Regions from separate parts of the Homo sapiens genome. Here region 2 is linked to region 1. The links are contacts of gene promoters, found by promoter capture Hi-C in human tissues and cell types (Jung and others, 2019). All regions are on one chromosome and are shown on one strand. Each heading gives the region's core, a stretch centred on a gene start or on the middle of the fragment in contact. The rest is flanking DNA. Distances are from core to core; before and after follow the strand shown. Region 1 holds the start of ZCCHC12 (zinc finger CCHC-type containing 12). Region 2 overlaps DOCK11 (dedicator of cytokinesis 11).

Region 1 (4,483 bases), core at 1,984-4,483:
TGTTCCTCCTGAAGTACATACTTCAGAATTTCCATTAGCTTGGTTTGCTGGTTACAAACTCTCTGTTTTGTTTGTCTAAAAATAACTATTTTATCCTCTTTTTGAAAACTTTTTTGAGTGATGCTGCCCTTAGAATGCCAGGTTAATATGTGCAGCATCTCCCATAAGCACCCCCATCCAGTCTTTGATATCCCTGAGCCGAAGCCCGAGTTTGAAGTGACCATATGCTCTCAGAAACCTTGGTGAAATAACAATGCCTATCTGAATAGGTTTGATGAGACACTTACATGAGATAAGGATGGAAAATTCCTGGCACAGAGGTTGAAGGCAACTAAAGGGAGTTATTCTTTCAACTGAAGGCATTGGCTCTGAATCTTAAGGATTTTAAGGGTTTTTTGTGTGTGTGTTTTTGTTTTGTTTTGTTTTGCAATTGGAAAATGAAATGTGGCCTCCTTAGAACCACCAGAGCTAGAATTCTTGTAATTGGAAGCCCCCTTACCCCCAACCCCTCTCCTATAATATGAGGCCAGAGATAAGGTATGCTCTGTATCCAACTGGAGCCAGTTTAGCAAATGCTCCTCCAAGCCCTATATGAAGAGACCTCCGCTTGGTTCTGATGATGCAACCCAGGCAACTTTACACAATCAAAATTTTTTGCACAGCTCTGAGACACAGTCTTTGTCCTTTCTGATGCCACCAGGTCCAACTGCAGAACACCTGATTTGGCGATGAAGCCAATTTAAATGTAGAACACGATTCTGCTTAGAGGCCAGGGTCAGATGTCATAGTATTGGGGAGCAGAAGCAAGAGTCTGAAGAAAACCCCTAAGCTATTGCCAGCATCACCCCCGACTGTGTGAAGTAAGCAACCTGCCTTCTCTGCACCTCCAAAATCCTCCACCCACCACCACCACCATTCCAGTGTTCCATCCACAAGAGAAAGGTCATGCCCCTGAGATGAAGGTGCTTTGTCTTTAAATGTAGATTGTTTACTCCAAGGAATTCTAGGTATTGGAGTTGGAAATAAGAAGGCAGAAAGAAGCAGGTAAAGTACCTTGGCAGGCTGAAGCTGAAATTAACAGCAGCTGAAAAGCATCAGACTGTTCACTCACTTCCAAACATCAGGAGTCAAGAACAAGCAACTCCTTTGCACTTGGGCAGTCCAAGTGCACTTGGTCTTGACCCCCCAAAGTTCCCACAGGAGTCTCTTAACCACACTTTACATGAGAGAAGGAAGGCTTGCTTTCCCAGAACCAGAAGTAAGGGAAAATGGAGTGCTGCAGGCTGAATTATGTTCCCCCAAATTCATTGTAATCCTAACCCTCAGTACCTTAGAGTGTGACTGTATTTAAAGATAGGGCCTTTAAAGAGGTTATTAAGGTAAAAATGAGGCCCTTAGGGTGGGCCCCAATCTGACTTGTGTCCTTATAAGAAGAGGAAATTTGGACACACTGAGAGAACCCAGAGGCACATATGCACAGAGAGGATGGCCAAGCAAGAGGGCAGCCATGTGCAAGCCAAGGAGAGAAGCCTCAGGAGAAACCAACCTTGCTGGCACCTTGAAGTTGGACTTCCCAACCTTCAGAACTATGAGCAATACATTTCTGTTGTTTATAAACCACCCAGTCTATGGTATTTTGCCATAGCACCCCAAACAGACTAAAACAGCACTGTAACAAATTATCACAAACTTGGCTTAAAACAAGAGAAGTTTAATTTCTCACAGTTCTAGAAGCCAGAAGCTTAACATCTGTTTCTCTGGGCTGAATTCAAGGTGTCAGTAGGACTGTGCTTTATTCCTTGCCTCTTCCAGTTTCTGGTGGCTGCTAGCATTCCTCTGCTTATGGCCACATCACTAATCTCTGGTCATTGCCTTCTCTTCTTGGTGCACCAACTCTCCCTCTTTTATAAGGGCACTTGTGGTTTAGATTTCAGCCTGCCTGGAAAATTAAGTCAAAAAGCCTTAACTTAATCACACCTGCAAAGACCATTTTACTTTATAAGGTAACATTTACAGGTTTCAGGGATTAGGACTTGATACATTTGGGTGGCCATTATTTAGCTTCATACAGAGTCCGAAATCTTTGCATACAATTTCAGGAAGATCATGGATTCCAGGTAGGCACATCTGCTCTGGAGTTGCATTTCACCACAGATACCTGTGGACAGATATTGGAGACAGGCTCATTTACTTATTCACAAACCTTGCTACAACTCAGAACCAACCGCAGCGCCGGTTAAAAATACTAAATACAAAACCACATCACAACCGCTAGTCCTAGTAAATCTGAATCCACCAGAGTTGGGGCCCAGAGCCTACATTTCTTTTCTTTTCCTTTTTTTTTTTTTTTTTTTTTTTTTTTTTTTTTTTTTGAGAGGGAGTCTTGTTCCCTTGCCAGGCTGAAGTGCAGCGGTGCGATCTTGGTTCACTGCAACCTCCGCCTCCCAGGTTGGAGAGATTCTCTAGCCTCAGCCTCCCAAGTAGCTGGGATTACAGGCACGCGCCATCATGCCCAGCTGATTTTTTTTTTTTTTTTTGTCTTTTTAGTAGAGACGGGGTTTCAACATGTTGGCCAGGATGGTCTCGATCTCTTGACCTCGTGAGCCGCCCGCCTCGGCCTCCCAAAGTGCTGGGATTTCAGGCGTGAGCCACCATTCCCGGCCAGAAGACTGCATTTCTAACAAGCTCCCCCAAATGACTCTGATGTCTTGCCCCCATACTTGAATGGGTATTGGTTGAGAGCCTTGTTCTCCAGCTCTCCTCTCTGTTAAATGGACATACTGCTACTTCTTTCACAGTAAAAGAGGAGATGTGTGTGAAAGCCTGTTTCCGCAATGCACGTGCTAATGCTCTTCCCGCCCCTTCCCCTCTTCCCCGTCTTTTCCCTATACCAAGGTGAAGAACTTTTATTATTCACTTGATTTTGGACCCACTTCGTGTTTAATGCACCTGGCCTAAGATGCAGAGTTGAGCCCAGGGAGAAGGGACGGGTTGGGGGAGGAAGAAAGAGTCGCAAATTCCCAGGCAGATTGGCTCCATCGGTCTAATCAAGCTGCACTTGACGCTCCGCGGGCCTGCTGCGCCCCCGCCCCCTCAGGCGAAAACTCGCCTCTGCCCAAGGCTGTGCGGGGCGTCCGCCCCCGCACTTCGCTGATTGGCCGCACTAGCCCGCTCGTCACGCTCTTTTGTCTCAGCTGGCAGAGGATAAAAGCCGCCGCGGCTGCCTTAGGAACGGCGCTGCCTCGTCTCTGCTACCCCTGGTTGGGCGGCCCTGCGAAGCAGCTCCTTCGGGCAGCCCCGGGTCGCTTAGCGGCCAAGGAGGCTTCAGTTCTTTGCCGCCTGCAAGGCGGAGACCAGAAGGCGGAATCCACAGCTGGCGACGCGGGAGCATCTGCTGTCCACCAGCGGAGCACAGGTAAAGAATGGGGGTGTGATTGCCCGGCGGGGAGAGGGGTGGGGGAAGACCCACCAGTACTGGGCGGCTCCCAGCTTGGAGAATCGGTGACTGTGAGGCAGGGGTAGGAGTACTCTCGTGGCCCGGCTGCGCTGAGGGAGGAGGTGGGGTTCACCTGGATACTGCGGGCTAGGTAGGATTTGCCTGGATTTGGGGGTGGGAGGAGAGGCGAGGAGTAGCGGGGGGAGGAATCTCGAGCTGTTTGCTTCGAACATCCTTTGCATCTCCTCATCTCTTTCTGGGAGGAATATGTGGGTGGGTGTGTCCAACTCCTATTCCCTTTCTCCGTGGCAGGCCATCAAAGCCGCATCTGAACTTGAATTCTGTGCAGCTGATTGCAGAGCTGGTAGGCCGACGGCTTCCCGGGGGAAATGTAATGCTGGAGGGTGGGGGGCTGGTCTCTGGCTTATAGTCAGGAGGGGGCAGAGAGAATTTTTCGCCTGGCAACAGCGGAGGTGGTGGGTAGCAGGATGACGGGTGAAGCTGCTTCTAACCCTTCCCTTCTCTGGCCTTCTCCGCTGTGGCGCAATCTTGAAACCTCAAGGACCCGGATCTGCGACCCCCTGTGGACAGAGGTTGACCGTACCCCGGAGAGGAGCTTTCTCACGGAGGGCACTGGTTGCAGAGGCTGGAAGTGAAATAAAGACGCGCTCTTGTTTCAGAGTTCGTGTAAGAATCTGAGAAATAACAAGGGGGACGGGCGTGGGGGGCACTTTGAGAAGGGGGTGTGGTTGAGACCAGAGACCATGAGGTTAATGAGATCTTATTTTATTTCCACAAATCTGCGATCATTGTACTCTATTTGGAGAGCCCAATATCAGCTCCAGACACTGCTACACCTAGAATTTGAAGCAACAGTTACCGTCCCTCTTGGAGGACTGGTGGGAGGGATGGATGTGGCTGCAAAAAGCACCTTGCTAGCACGCAGGCATCGGGTAGCTCTGGGAGGTTGTAAGTGTCAATCTCCTACAGGATTATTTTTAGGGTAGTGGGCAAATATAAAATGTACTGCAGGATATTCAGGTAGGA
Region 2 (4,930 bases), core at 2,065-4,564, 130 kb before region 1:
GAAATGCAGATGTACGTGACAATGAGACTGACCTTTCTCAGGAATATTTGGAGCTGTGCAAATGTTAAAATTTAAAGATTTGATATACATGGAGTGTTTCTTCTCGACACCAAAATTTTCATGTGTTCCAACAGGGTGCTTACATATTTGTAAATAAGCAACTTGAAAGTGCCTGGAAAATTGCACCACTGTGCTTGGTTTGTACTTTTTTAGGTAAATCTATATGCTGAAAAGTAGAGCTCAAAAACAGTAGTTCAATTTGCTTAATTATTGCTTAAAATAATGGTACTATGTAAAATTGTATAATGGAATACAATAAAAGGTAAAACTTATTTGTAATTAGAAGTGAAAGAAATAATACTTTGAACTTAGCATTTTTCTTGACAAGAAGCTCAATTCATTATCATACTAATCCTTGGTAGGAGGAGAAGAAAATTGATAACATTTCCGTAATACACGGATATTTAAAATTGGGGAGATCATTTGAATCCTTGCCAATTAGTAGTCAAGGCTGGGCTAAAGGAACCAAAAGCATTATTTCACAGAAAATTTCAAAAGGAAAGGATATATTTACAAATATACGAAGCTTAGGCTGGACACGGTGGCTCATGCCTGTAATCCCAACACTTTGGGAGGCTGAGGCAGGCGGATCATGAGGTCAGGAGTTCAAGACCAGCCTGACCAACATGGTGAAACCCCATCTCTACTAAAAATACAAAAATTAGCTGGTCATGGTGGTGCATGCCTGTAATCCCAGCTACTGAGGAGGTTGAGGCAGGAGAATCGCTTGAACCCAGGAGGTGGAGGTTGCAGTGAGCTGAGATCACGCCACTGCACTCCAGTCTGGGCGACAGTGAGACTCTGTATATATAACATATATATAATAGTAAGCTTGAGATACCATATATATATGTTATGATCTGATGACGCTAGGTAATCTAGTAGGTCTCCCTTCTACATACAAGACATCTAAGGGATTTATACAGGGCAAGCAGCATTTGTTGCCAAAGCTTTATCATCTGGGGCCATCTACAAAGATAAAACATTTCTGAGATTGCAGTCAGTACATCCCACAGAACTTCAAAGCTTTTACAGCAATCTGAGGTAGGAGTTTTGTAATGATTATTTTCTTCAGTTACAAGATTAATAAACATTTTGATTAGAACTTAATGGTTGCAGCATGTCTTGGGTCAATGTAGAAAACCACCACAGATTTGGCAAACTAGCTTGGGATTATATTTCTGTCTATGAAGAAATCTCAGATTGCCTAAATAATTCAGGAGAAACCAAGATGTGAATGACATTTTTTAGCTTGAATTATCCAAATCATTTTGGCTGCCTTCTATGGGAACTCGGGTTCTAGACTTCCTTTTTTTTTTTTTTTTGAGATGGAGTCTCGTTCTGTCGCCCAGGCTGGCGTACAATGGCGCGATCTTGGCTCACTGCAACCTCTGCCTCCCTGGTTCACGCCATTCTCCTGCCTCAGCCTCCCGAGTAGTTGAGACTACAGGCGCCTGCCACCACGCCCGGCTAATTTTTTGTATTTTTTTTTTAGTAGAGACGGGGTTTCACTGTGTTAGCCAGGATGGTCTCGATCTCCTGACATCGTGATCTGCCAAAAGTGCTGGGATTACAGGCATGAGCCACTTTGCCCAGCCTACACTTATTTTCCTTATGTGGTTTAGCCTCTTTTACAGATGAAAAAACAGTCACTAAAATATAAATGGATTGCACGGGGCCTTGGCTTTTTGAGCACTTTGTGATCAAGTAAATCCTAGAGATTATGCTCCTGGCCTGACCATTTTTATTTTTATTTTTTGGGGGGTACCATTTTTTCTTTTTTGAGACAAAGTCTTGCTCTGTCACCCAGGCTGGAGTGCAGTGGCGCCATCTTGGCTCACTGCAACCTCCATCTCCCGGGTTCAAATGATTCTCCTGCCTCAACCTCCTGAGTAGCTGGGATTACAGGCAGGTGCCACCACGCCCAGCTAATTTTTGTATTTTTAGTAGAGACGGGGTTTCACCATGCTGCTCAGGCTGGTCTCGAACTCCTGACCTTGTGATCCACCCGCCTCAGCCTCCCAAAGTACTGGGATTACAGGCGTGAGCCACCGCGTCCAGCCCATTTTTTCTTTATATGTCATTTTTAAGCTTTCAGGAGAGCATGAACTTATTTATTAAAAGTTAATTTTGTATTTTAATAGGGGACTTTTACAAGTATTTCCAAGGCAGTTTGTAATTCCTTAATATCTTAGAGTAACCTGTAGAGTTAGTTTCACCTTTAAAGTGATTATATTTGATATGTATGTGTGAGGAATCATCACCTCTAGTAAATGCTGCATTCTGAGAGTTTGGCATCTTGAGGAGACTCCAGCACTCTTCTGTCTGTAACTAGTCCCTGTCAAAGCCCCTAGCACAGCAATATGCACTGTGGGTAGATTTTTTAATGTAATAAATGGCCCCTATTGCCAAGGATCTCGCAGTCTAGTTGAGAAAGCAAGACGCACAAAATTAAATAGTACAAGAATTAACAATGTAAGACAGGAGAAGTCATATGTGAGTATTGCCAAATGAACGACAGCATTCATAACTCAAATCACATTCAAAGAAAGAGATCACTGTGAATTGTAAATGTTCAGGGAGGGTTTAGTGAAGAAAAGTTAAGCTTTGAACAGGCTTCCAAAAATGGAGAGGGGTATTCTAGGCAGGAGGAACACCATAAGCAAAGGTGCAAAAAGAATTTGTGGAGGTTCAGGGGATAGTAAGGAGACCAGTTTTGTCCAAGAGGTGGTAGATGATAAATCTAGAAAATACAGGCTGGGCGTGGTGGCTCATGCCTGTAATCCCAGCACTTTGGGAGGCTGAGACAGGCAGATCACTTGAGCCCAGGAGTTCAAGACCAGCTTGGCCAACATGGTAAAACACTGTCTCTAATAAAAATACAAAAAAAAGTTAGCCAGGCATGGTGGTACACACCTGTAATCCCAGCTACTTGGGAGGCTGAGGCACAAGAATCGCTTGAACCCGGGAGGTGGAGGTTGTAGTGAGCCTAGATCATGCCATTGCACTCCAGCCTGGGTGGCAGAGTGAGATTCTGTCAACAACAACAACAACAACAACAACAAAAAGAAAGAAAAAAGAAATAAAATACATTCGGACTGAGATTTTGGAAGGCGCTGAATACCAGGCTAATGGTATTTGGAGTTTACTCAATAGGCATGAGAGAGCTAGCCAAGGTTTTTAAACAGATTACTTAATTAAATGTTATTTTTAGAAATTTAATCTTTTATATTGCTGCCAGATGTATTTGAGGTAGAGAGACATGGAAATTAGGAAACCAGTTACATAGATATTGCAATAAACTAAATTCAATAAACCTCTAGATGTGAGTGATATGACAAGAATGGAGAAGAAAGGACGAGTCCCAGAGACATATATGGAAGGACTAGGTAAGACTCATTGGATGGCCAAGGGAAAAAAAAAAAGAAATGTGAAAGATAATTTTGTGTCCTGTGGCCAGGGAGTTTGCCATGTCATGGCACAAGCTCACTAGATTTATTTTTCCAACTCTCAGACTAAAGGTAGCAAGCTGTAGAGAACAAGGTGGGCTCGAACAGAGAAAGCTAGGTAAATCTGTTTTTTAAACACTACATGTATTAGGCATTAAAGTGTATATAGTTTAATGATTTCTTGAAGTGATTTGTCCTCTACAAATTAATTAACACCAAAGAATACATTTCTCCTATACTGATTGTTTTGCAGTTAAGCTTGAGTCCAATTTCCCCTAGAAGTTGTTGTTTTGATAGTCTTTGGACATACTGTGAAATGTGATTAAGTCACCCTTGGTAGTGTTAGTTTATCACTACGGTGAAAAACCATAGAGAAAATAAGAAATTCCATGGAAATTTTCCTAGTAACCAGTTGTCACCACTGGCATCATGTATATAGATGGGATTGTTATTGTTACCGTATTTATATGATTTGGCTGCCTATCAAAATATTATATATTTTCAAAAGTGAAACAGAAAGCAGCAGTGGTAGTAATGTCCTTGGAACCTTGACCAACAACACATCATCCTAGAACTAGAGATGACTCTAATTAAGAAACTAGATAAGTCATGATAATAAGAACGCACATTTTTAAAAAACTATTTCGTATCTTTTTTTCTTCTAACTTTTAGGTTCAGGGGGTACATGTGCAGGTTTGTTCCATGAGATATTAGCTTTCTCTGAGATGAAGAACCTGAGTGATATAATGGATTAATAGGAATTTCCAAACTCTTCAAAACATTGATAATTAGACATATGTCTTGGGCTTCTGATCTCCAAAATGTTGGGCTACCTTTAGTCTCAGTCTTGTTCTAACAGTACACTAGTTCAGCTATCAAAAGACAAGGAGAGGAAAGGAGTAAAAGTTGGTTGTGGGTGGGGAGTGGGTTTGTGTAACAAGGCTATACCCCTGTCTTGGGAGTTGGTGAGTAAGAGTGCTTTATTTATCTTTTTTTTTTTTTTCTAAGCACTTAATGGTCACTGTCTAAAAACAGTGTATCTATGTTTGTTCATCTCCTAATGGGAGTCGTGGCTAAGTTCTAAGATTTTGCCTCTGTGCATAGCATTTTAAAACTTTTCCAATGTTCTTTTTTTTTGCTTTGTTTTTCCTTTTTATTGAGATATAATTCACATACCATACAATTTACCCATTTAAAGTACACAATTCAGTGTTTTTTAAAATTACATCCACAGAGTTGTGCAAGTATCACTACAATTTAAAACATGTTTATCACCTGAAAGAGACCCCATACTCATTAGCAGTCACTCCTACCGGTCATCATCCTCCAGCCCCTGGCAACCACTAATCTACTTTTTGTCCCTACAAGGTTTACCTGTTCTGGACATTTCATATAAATGCAGTCATACAATATGTGGCCTT

What was found. Contacts are between HindIII fragments. The study calls those that stand out against the background at their distance.
Region 2: a fragment that was not itself captured here is called in contact with the fragment with the promoter of ZCCHC12 in region 1 in 4 of the 25 tissues and cell types used here (adrenal gland, dorsolateral prefrontal cortex, mesendoderm cells and 1 more).

The regions. Positions count from the first base shown.
Region 1 is chrX:118,820,591-118,825,073 of GRCh38, forward strand. ZCCHC12 (zinc finger CCHC-type containing 12) reads left to right here and starts at 3,234. Exons shown (of 4, transcript NM_173798.4): 1 at 3,234-3,415; 2 at 3,749-3,800; 3 at 3,999-4,123. The HindIII fragment of the contact is 10,215 bases long and covers 655-4,483 here.
Region 2 is chrX:118,685,809-118,690,738 of GRCh38, forward strand. It overlaps DOCK11 (dedicator of cytokinesis 11), which reads left to right. Exons shown (of 53, transcript NM_144658.4): 53 at 1-339. Among named protein-coding and RNA genes, the nearest start is that of IL13RA1, 39 kb to the right of the region's middle. The HindIII fragment of the contact is 5,152 bases long and covers 739-4,930 here.